Regions from separate parts of the Homo sapiens genome. Here all the other regions are linked to region 1. Evidence: promoter capture Hi-C in human tissues and cell types (Jung and others, 2019). All regions are on one chromosome and are shown on one strand. Each heading gives the region's core, a stretch centred on a gene start or on the middle of the fragment in contact. The rest is flanking DNA. Distances are from core to core; before and after follow the strand shown.

Evidence for each region. The method cuts DNA at HindIII sites, captures the fragments that hold promoters and counts their contacts. A contact is called where the count stands out against the background at its distance.
Region 2: the fragment with the promoter of SNX32 here is called in contact with a fragment that was not itself captured in region 1 in 1 of the 25 tissues and cell types used here (hippocampus).
Region 3: a contact is called between the fragment with the promoter of AP5B1 here and a fragment that was not itself captured in region 1, in 1 of the 25 tissues and cell types used here (spleen).

What each region holds. Positions count from the first base shown.
Region 1 is chr11:65,499,538-65,502,140 of GRCh38, forward strand. It overlaps MALAT1 (metastasis associated lung adenocarcinoma transcript 1), which reads left to right. Exons shown (of 1, transcript NR_002819.5): 1 at 1-2,603. It also overlaps TALAM1. Among named protein-coding and RNA genes, the nearest start is that of MALAT1, 1.8 kb to the left of the region's middle. RefSeq lists an enhancer at 902-1,031. The HindIII fragment of the contact is 4,315 bases long and covers 1-2,603 here.
Region 2 is chr11:65,832,658-65,835,260 of GRCh38, forward strand. It overlaps SNX32 (sorting nexin 32), which reads left to right and starts at 1,306. Exons shown (of 13, transcript NM_152760.3): 1 at 1,306-1,444. The coding sequence starts at 1,409. LOC124902693 reads right to left here and starts at 1,142. Exons shown (of 7, transcript XM_047427980.1): 1 at 1-1,142. The coding sequence starts at 854. RefSeq lists silencers at 858-987, 1,161-1,373 and an enhancer at 1,298-1,387. The HindIII fragment of the contact is 13,089 bases long and covers 1-2,603 here.
Region 3 is chr11:65,779,698-65,782,300 of GRCh38, forward strand. It overlaps AP5B1 (adaptor related protein complex 5 subunit beta 1), which reads right to left and starts at 1,279. Exons shown (of 2, transcript NM_138368.5): 1 at 745-1,279; 2 at 1-645. The coding sequence starts at 894. RefSeq lists silencers at 353-622, 773-952, 993-1,732 and enhancers at 361-1,263, 1,993-2,603. The HindIII fragment of the contact is 21,769 bases long and covers 1-2,603 here.

The sequences.
Region 1 (2,603 bases), core at 46-2,545:
GACGCAGGGAGAATTGCGTCATTTAAAGCCTAGTTAACGCATTTACTAAACGCAGACGAAAATGGAAAGATTAATTGGGAGTGGTAGGATGAAACAATTTGGAGAAGATAGAAGTTTGAAGTGGAAAACTGGAAGACAGAAGTACGGGAAGGCGAAGAAAAGAATAGAGAAGATAGGGAAATTAGAAGATAAAAACATACTTTTAGAAGAAAAAAGATAAATTTAAACCTGAAAAGTAGGAAGCAGAAGAAAAAAGACAAGCTAGGAAACAAAAAGCTAAGGGCAAAATGTACAAACTTAGAAGAAAATTGGAAGATAGAAACAAGATAGAAAATGAAAATATTGTCAAGAGTTTCAGATAGAAAATGAAAAACAAGCTAAGACAAGTATTGGAGAAGTATAGAAGATAGAAAAATATAAAGCCAAAAATTGGATAAAATAGCACTGAAAAAATGAGGAAATTATTGGTAACCAATTTATTTTAAAAGCCCATCAATTTAATTTCTGGTGGTGCAGAAGTTAGAAGGTAAAGCTTGAGAAGATGAGGGTGTTTACGTAGACCAGAACCAATTTAGAAGAATACTTGAAGCTAGAAGGGGAAGTTGGTTAAAAATCACATCAAAAAGCTACTAAAAGGACTGGTGTAATTTAAAAAAAACTAAGGCAGAAGGCTTTTGGAAGAGTTAGAAGAATTTGGAAGGCCTTAAATATAGTAGCTTAGTTTGAAAAATGTGAAGGACTTTCGTAACGGAAGTAATTCAAGATCAAGAGTAATTACCAACTTAATGTTTTTGCATTGGACTTTGAGTTAAGATTATTTTTTAAATCCTGAGGACTAGCATTAATTGACAGCTGACCCAGGTGCTACACAGAAGTGGATTCAGTGAATCTAGGAAGACAGCAGCAGACAGGATTCCAGGAACCAGTGTTTGATGAAGCTAGGACTGAGGAGCAAGCGAGCAAGCAGCAGTTCGTGGTGAAGATAGGAAAAGAGTCCAGGAGCCAGTGCGATTTGGTGAAGGAAGCTAGGAAGAAGGAAGGAGCGCTAACGATTTGGTGGTGAAGCTAGGAAAAAGGATTCCAGGAAGGAGCGAGTGCAATTTGGTGATGAAGGTAGCAGGCGGCTTGGCTTGGCAACCACACGGAGGAGGCGAGCAGGCGTTGTGCGTAGAGGATCCTAGACCAGCATGCCAGTGTGCCAAGGCCACAGGGAAAGCGAGTGGTTGGTAAAAATCCGTGAGGTCGGCAATATGTTGTTTTTCTGGAACTTACTTATGGTAACCTTTTATTTATTTTCTAATATAATGGGGGAGTTTCGTACTGAGGTGTAAAGGGATTTATATGGGGACGTAGGCCGATTTCCGGGTGTTGTAGGTTTCTCTTTTTCAGGCTTATACTCATGAATCTTGTCTGAAGCTTTTGAGGGCAGACTGCCAAGTCCTGGAGAAATAGTAGATGGCAAGTTTGTGGGTTTTTTTTTTTTACACGAATTTGAGGAAAACCAAATGAATTTGATAGCCAAATTGAGACAATTTCAGCAAATCTGTAAGCAGTTTGTATGTTTAGTTGGGGTAATGAAGTATTTCAGTTTTGTGAATAGATGACCTGTTTTTACTTCCTCACCCTGAATTCGTTTTGTAAATGTAGAGTTTGGATGTGTAACTGAGGCGGGGGGGAGTTTTCAGTATTTTTTTTTGTGGGGGTGGGGGCAAAATATGTTTTCAGTTCTTTTTCCCTTAGGTCTGTCTAGAATCCTAAAGGCAAATGACTCAAGGTGTAACAGAAAACAAGAAAATCCAATATCAGGATAATCAGACCACCACAGGTTTACAGTTTATAGAAACTAGAGCAGTTCTCACGTTGAGGTCTGTGGAAGAGATGTCCATTGGAGAAATGGCTGGTAGTTACTCTTTTTTCCCCCCACCCCCTTAATCAGACTTTAAAAGTGCTTAACCCCTTAAACTTGTTATTTTTTACTTGAAGCATTTTGGGATGGTCTTAACAGGGAAGAGAGAGGGTGGGGGAGAAAATGTTTTTTTCTAAGATTTTCCACAGATGCTATAGTACTATTGACAAACTGGGTTAGAGAAGGAGTGTACCGCTGTGCTGTTGGCACGAACACCTTCAGGGACTGGAGCTGCTTTTATCCTTGGAAGAGTATTCCCAGTTGAAGCTGAAAAGTACAGCACAGTGCAGCTTTGGTTCATATTCAGTCATCTCAGGAGAACTTCAGAAGAGCTTGAGTAGGCCAAATGTTGAAGTTAAGTTTTCCAATAATGTGACTTCTTAAAAGTTTTATTAAAGGGGAGGGGCAAATATTGGCAATTAGTTGGCAGTGGCCTGTTACGGTTGGGATTGGTGGGGTGGGTTTAGGTAATTGTTTAGTTTATGATTGCAGATAAACTCATGCCAGAGAACTTAAAGTCTTAGAATGGAAAAAGTAAAGAAATATCAACTTCCAAGTTGGCAAGTAACTCCCAATGATTTAGTTTTTTTCCCCCCAGTTTGAATTGGGAAGCTGGGGGAAGTTAAATATGAGCCACTGGGTGTACCAGTGCATTAATTTGGGCAAGGAAAGTGTCATAATTTGATACTGTATCTGT
Region 2 (2,603 bases), core at 56-2,555, 330 kb after region 1:
AGCTTCTCTCCACTAGTTCCCAGCTTCTCTCCACTCCATCTCAGCTTCTCTCTACTTGATCTCAAATTCTCTCCACTTGATCTCAGCTTTCTGCCACTGGACCTCAGCTTCACTCCACTGGACCCCTGCTTCTCTCCCCTGCACACCAGCTTCTCACTAGTAGACCTCAGCTTCTCTACACTTGATCTCATCTTGTCTACACTAGACCTCAACCCCTTCTCATCCTGTCCCAGTTTATATCCATTGGATCTCAAGTCCTCTCCACTGGTCCCTACCTTCTCCCCAGCAGACCTCAACCTCTCTTCAAACCCAGACCCCTTCATAGGCCCTGCTGTCATCCCTGCACTCTTAGATTTAGCCTTTATTTCGTGTTTGACCTCTTGCTTTCCCCAAATACCCCTTGGGCTGTCTTTCCCCAAATCTGCTGAAGCTTGTGATGCACTTGCTCCACGGTATAGCAGCTTCACATCCATCCTTTCCTGACTCGGGCCTGACTTCCCTTTCAAGACCGTCTTTTCCACATCTTCCAGTCTCCAGTACTCAGACTCCAGCTTCGGCTTTCGAGTGTTTCTAGTCAGGAGCTCCACTCTCTTCCCAATTACCATGAGCCCGTTCCAAGGTCCCCAGGTTTTCTCTCGCAGCATCGGCACCCCCTTGCAGCCCCGCTCCAGTGGCGACCGTTCGCGGACCCCGGCCTCGCTTGGGGCGCCCTGGCCGCGGGACTTGTGGAGCTCCCTAGTCCTCCTAGGCTGCTTACCCCGCCGCTCCCTCCCGTCCAAGAGCGGAAACCTAAACAGACCCCCCTTCTCCACAGACATTGTCCCCTGCCCTCGCCCCTGGTCCACCACCCACATCCCCACCACTGCTTCCCATTCCCTGTCCCCACCCTGCCACCCTCACCCTCTTCCCCTTCCCCTTCCCCTTCCCCACTGCCTGGTGGGCGCCAAACTGGGCGAGTGCGCACGCGCAGGCCGCACGTGGCCGTTGGAAGGAGGGGCCCGGAACGGCGGCACGGGGTTGTTGTGGGGGTCAGTCCCCCGGGGACTGGAGGGAGACGCGGCACGCGGCCTCTGCGACCCTATGAACTCTGACCCCAGCTCCCACACTGTCGCCTATCACCGGCCCACTCTCCGTGCCGCGTGTCCCTTAAAAGCTGGGGCCTGGGACAGGAACGACAGACAATGCAGCCAATGGCGTCACGCGCGGTGCCCCGCTACCCAATCGAAAGGCGTGGCTGAGGGAAACGCGGTGGGAACCGCCCCCGACTCCAGGCGACTCCTTGGCCGGGCGGGGGAGAGCGTCCCCGTCAGCTGAGAGCATCCTCACTCGGTCAGTTCCTCGGGCGAGTTACGGGGACGACCTGCGGGAGCACGCGGGCAGTGGCCGGACGCTGAAGCCCAGGAGAGCGATGGAGACGTATGCGGAGGTTGGGAAGGAGGGCAAGGTAGAGAAAGGATGAAGACCCCCACCCCAGCCTCCCCTCACTCCATGAAAGCCCGTGATGCCCAATCATGCGGTGGTGTGTGTGTGTCTGTGTGTGTGTGGTCTGCCTCTGTGTGTTTCTGTGTGTGTCTGTGTGTGTATAGTCTGCATGTGTCTGTTTCTCTGTGTGTCTGTGTGTATGTCGATGTGCCTGCATATGTCTGTGTGTGTGTGTATCTGTGTATGTCTGTATTTGTGTCTCTGTGTGTCTGTGTGTCTGTGTGTGTCTCAGTGTGTGTCTGTGTCTTTGTGTGTCTCTGTGTATCTGTGTGTGTGTCTGTGTGTCTCCGTGTCTCTGTGTGTGTGTGTATGGCCTGTGTGTGTCTGTGTGTGTGCACGTATGCGTCCATGTGGGTGTTTGTGCGTGCATGTCTGTGTCTGTCTCTGTGTGTGTCTGTGCATGTCTGTGTGTGTGTGTCTGTGTGTCTGTGTCTGTGTATGGTCTGCGTGTGTCTTTGTGTCTGTGTCTGTCTGTGTGTATGGTCTGCATGTGTGCATGTATGCATCTGTGTGTGTCTCTGTGTGTATCTGTGTGTGCACGCATGTGCCTGTGTGTGTCTGCGCAGGTCTGTGTCTCTTTGTGTCTGAGTGTGTGTCTGTCTCTGTGTCTATGTATGGTCTGCGTGCATCTTTATGTCTGTGTGTGTGTGTCTCTGTGTGTGTGTATGGTCTGCGTGTGTCTGTGTGTGTGTGTCTGTGTATTTCTGGGTCTGTGTGTGTGTTTGCATGTGTCTGTGTGTGTCTGTATCCGTGTGTCTTTGTATATCTGTGTGTGTCTATGTCAGTGTGTCTGTGTGTGCATCTGTGTGTGTCTGTGTGCCTGTGTATGATCTGTGTATGTCGTTGTGTGTGTCTGTGTGTGTGTTTCTCTGTGCCTGTGTGTTTGTGTGTGTCTGTGTATCTGTGTGTGTTTCTATGTGTGTCTGTGTGTGCGTGTGTCTGTGTTTGTCTCGTGTGTCTGTGTGTGTGTATGTGCCCATGTGTCTCTGTGTGTATGTGTGTGTCTGCGCAAGTGAGAGAAAGGAGACTTGAGCAAGGGAGTGGGGAGCCTCTGTGGCACCTGTGTGCGGACTGATGAGGATGCCAAGGGAGGCAGGGTTTTGCCTTTGTCCTTACAGATG
Region 3 (2,603 bases), core at 29-2,528, 280 kb after region 1:
CCGCGCCTCCTCAGGGCTGTGCTCTCGTGCTGTAAGGCTACGCTCCCCCTCTCCCTCCTCAGCTGCCGGCCAGCTGGGTGCCTGGGGCTGAAGGCGTCCATCGCCCTCCTCCACTAGTGTCCAATCCCAGGGACCACCCCCAGTTGGGGAGACCTTATCCGTGAGCAGTCCCCCCAGGCCAGCCCCAACCCGGGACTGGAGCACCAAGGTGTTGCGCAAAGCGAGGGCCAGCAACAGGCTGAGTGGCTGGACAGGGCCTTCCTGCCCCAGCAGGCCCCGCAGCAACCCCAGGGAGCCCCCCAGCAGCCCGGGCTTGCAGCTCTCTAGCTCTCGCAGGCACTCGCAGGCCGTGGCCTGCAAGGGGCGCTGTTCCGAGGCGGGGACAAAGCCTCGCCCCAGATCGCTACCCGCGGCCAGGCCGAGCAGTAGGGGCAGGAGCCGGCAGGAGGCGCCCGAGGTGGGGCCCAGCGCGCCGCCCGCCGCCAGGGCAGTGGTGGCCGCCAGCAGCAGTGGCCGACGGAGAGCTGAGGGCCGCGGGGGTAGGAGGACCAAGGTGTCCAACAGGGAGGTGGCGGCCACTTCGGCCGCAGAGGCGTCGGGCCACAGCTGCGCAGGGTACTCCATGCTCAGGGCCAGCAGGGAAACCTGGATGGGGGATTAGGAGGGAATCACGAAGATGAGGTTCATGACGCGGCGGGCTGGGGTGACCCTGCGGAACGGCGCAGGGGACGCGTGGGGGCCTACCTTGGTCTGTTCGCTCAGCTTCTCACTTCTCAGGTCGCTCAGCAGGTCGCGACCCAAATCCTCCCCCTCGGGACCTGCCATGAAGGCAGACGGGCTGGCCCGGAAGGCCCCCAAGCGCTGGGCCCAGGCGTCCCGGCTCAGGGGCCCCATGGTGAGGCGCGCGGGCCCCTGCGCAGGGAAGAGGGACCCTCAGGCCGCAGCCACCGGGAGCGCGGGGCCCGCTGCCGACCCCGAGGGGCTGCGGTCACCCCCAGACGCCGCGCAGATGCCGGCGGGACCCGCGCCCGGCTCCCACGGTGAGACCAGGGCTCTCGGGGCCGACGCCAGAGCTGGGCGCCGGGGCCCTCGCGGGACAGGACAGGAGCAGGGCGGGGGAGGGTGCGTGCCGAGAGCTCGTTAGGCCGCCTCCCTCCCGCCCGCGGCCCGCACCGAAACCACAGCGCCACCCCGGCCCCCGGCGCCGGCGGTAACGGGCCGCGCTCGCCGCCTGACTCAGCCGCCGCGGGCACTCAGGCCGGCCGGCTCCTTCCGGGCTGGCGGCGCGGGGCGGGGCGCGGCGCGGGGGCGGCCGAGTCCGGGCGGGGAGGGGCGGGGCGTAACGGGGCCACCGCCTCCCGCAGGTGTCGACTCGCAGGTTTCGCGGGGGCTGACTAACTGTCCCGCCGCGCAGGCCCCCTTCCCCGAAACCGCCGCAGGCCGGGGCAGGAAAGGCGGAGGGGAGTGGGTAGGGGTGGCGGAGCGGGGTGGGCCTGGGCCCCAGATGCCGGGTACCGCGGCGCAGGGCTGCGATCCCGCGGCCCTCGGCGGACAGCGGCCCGGTCCCACCAGCGCCCGCCAAGCCGCGCAGGGCGGCAGCCAGCGCGCCCCCCGCCGGCGCCCGGGCACACCGCACCCTGCGCCAGACGCGCGGCCCCGGGGGGCGTGGGTGCGGGTCCTGGGGCTCCCGGAGTGGCCCCTGGGGGTGACCAAGGTGCGGTCGCAGGGCGCCCGCAGGAAAAGCGCCCCAGCTGAACCGGTCCGGCGGGCGCCGCAGGGCTTGGCTTCGCTTCCCTGACGCCTGCCCGGGCCCCCAGCCCGCTCGGCTTGGGGGCGAGGAGCCGGCGCCGCGGTTGCGGCCAGCCAGGAGCTTCTGACCTTTGTTTGCCCGAGGCCGCGCTGGCGGCCCGCAGGGGTCGTGACGGCGAGGGCGGGGCAGGGCCCTAAGTCGAAAACAACGGGATCCATACTCGGGAAGTGCGGGCTGTCAGGGCCTGGCCGGTCACGGGGCTCGAGGCATGCCTAGCGATGGGGAAAACAGGCCCAGGAGGAGGGCGGCCTTGCCAACCGAGATCTGGGGCCAAGCCGGGCCGGAACCCAGCACTCCAGACTTCAGTGGGCTGGATTCTGGCTGTTTGGGGGCATTCGGGGGTCTGGGCGGCGGTCTCTCCCAGGCCAGAGGCCCAGGTTGCAGGTGCCCCACAGACCACCGGTTTCCAGGGCACAGAACCGCCGGCGCCCAAACCTCACCACCCCTCTGGCTCCAATTAGCCGCTTTGAAGATGAAACAGGCCTGAGCCCCCATGCAAGCCAGTGCCAGCTGGCCTCTCCCTACCCCATCCTGCTCCAGATGGGAGGTGGTGGAGAGTTGAGGGGTGGAGAGTGCCAAAAAGGAGGCTGTCTGGGTGCCCTTGGGGATGGAGAGATAGAGACCCACTCGGAGGGACAGGTCCAGCCAGAAGGCCCGGTCCCGGCTCCTCTAGGCCCTGGCTCCACAGTTGACTCACAGGCAGCAGCCCCAAACTACTTCCCTCTAGGTGCCTCAGTTTCCCCATCTATAAAATGGGAGTGATAACTCCCACCCAAGAGGCTGTGGGGTGAGG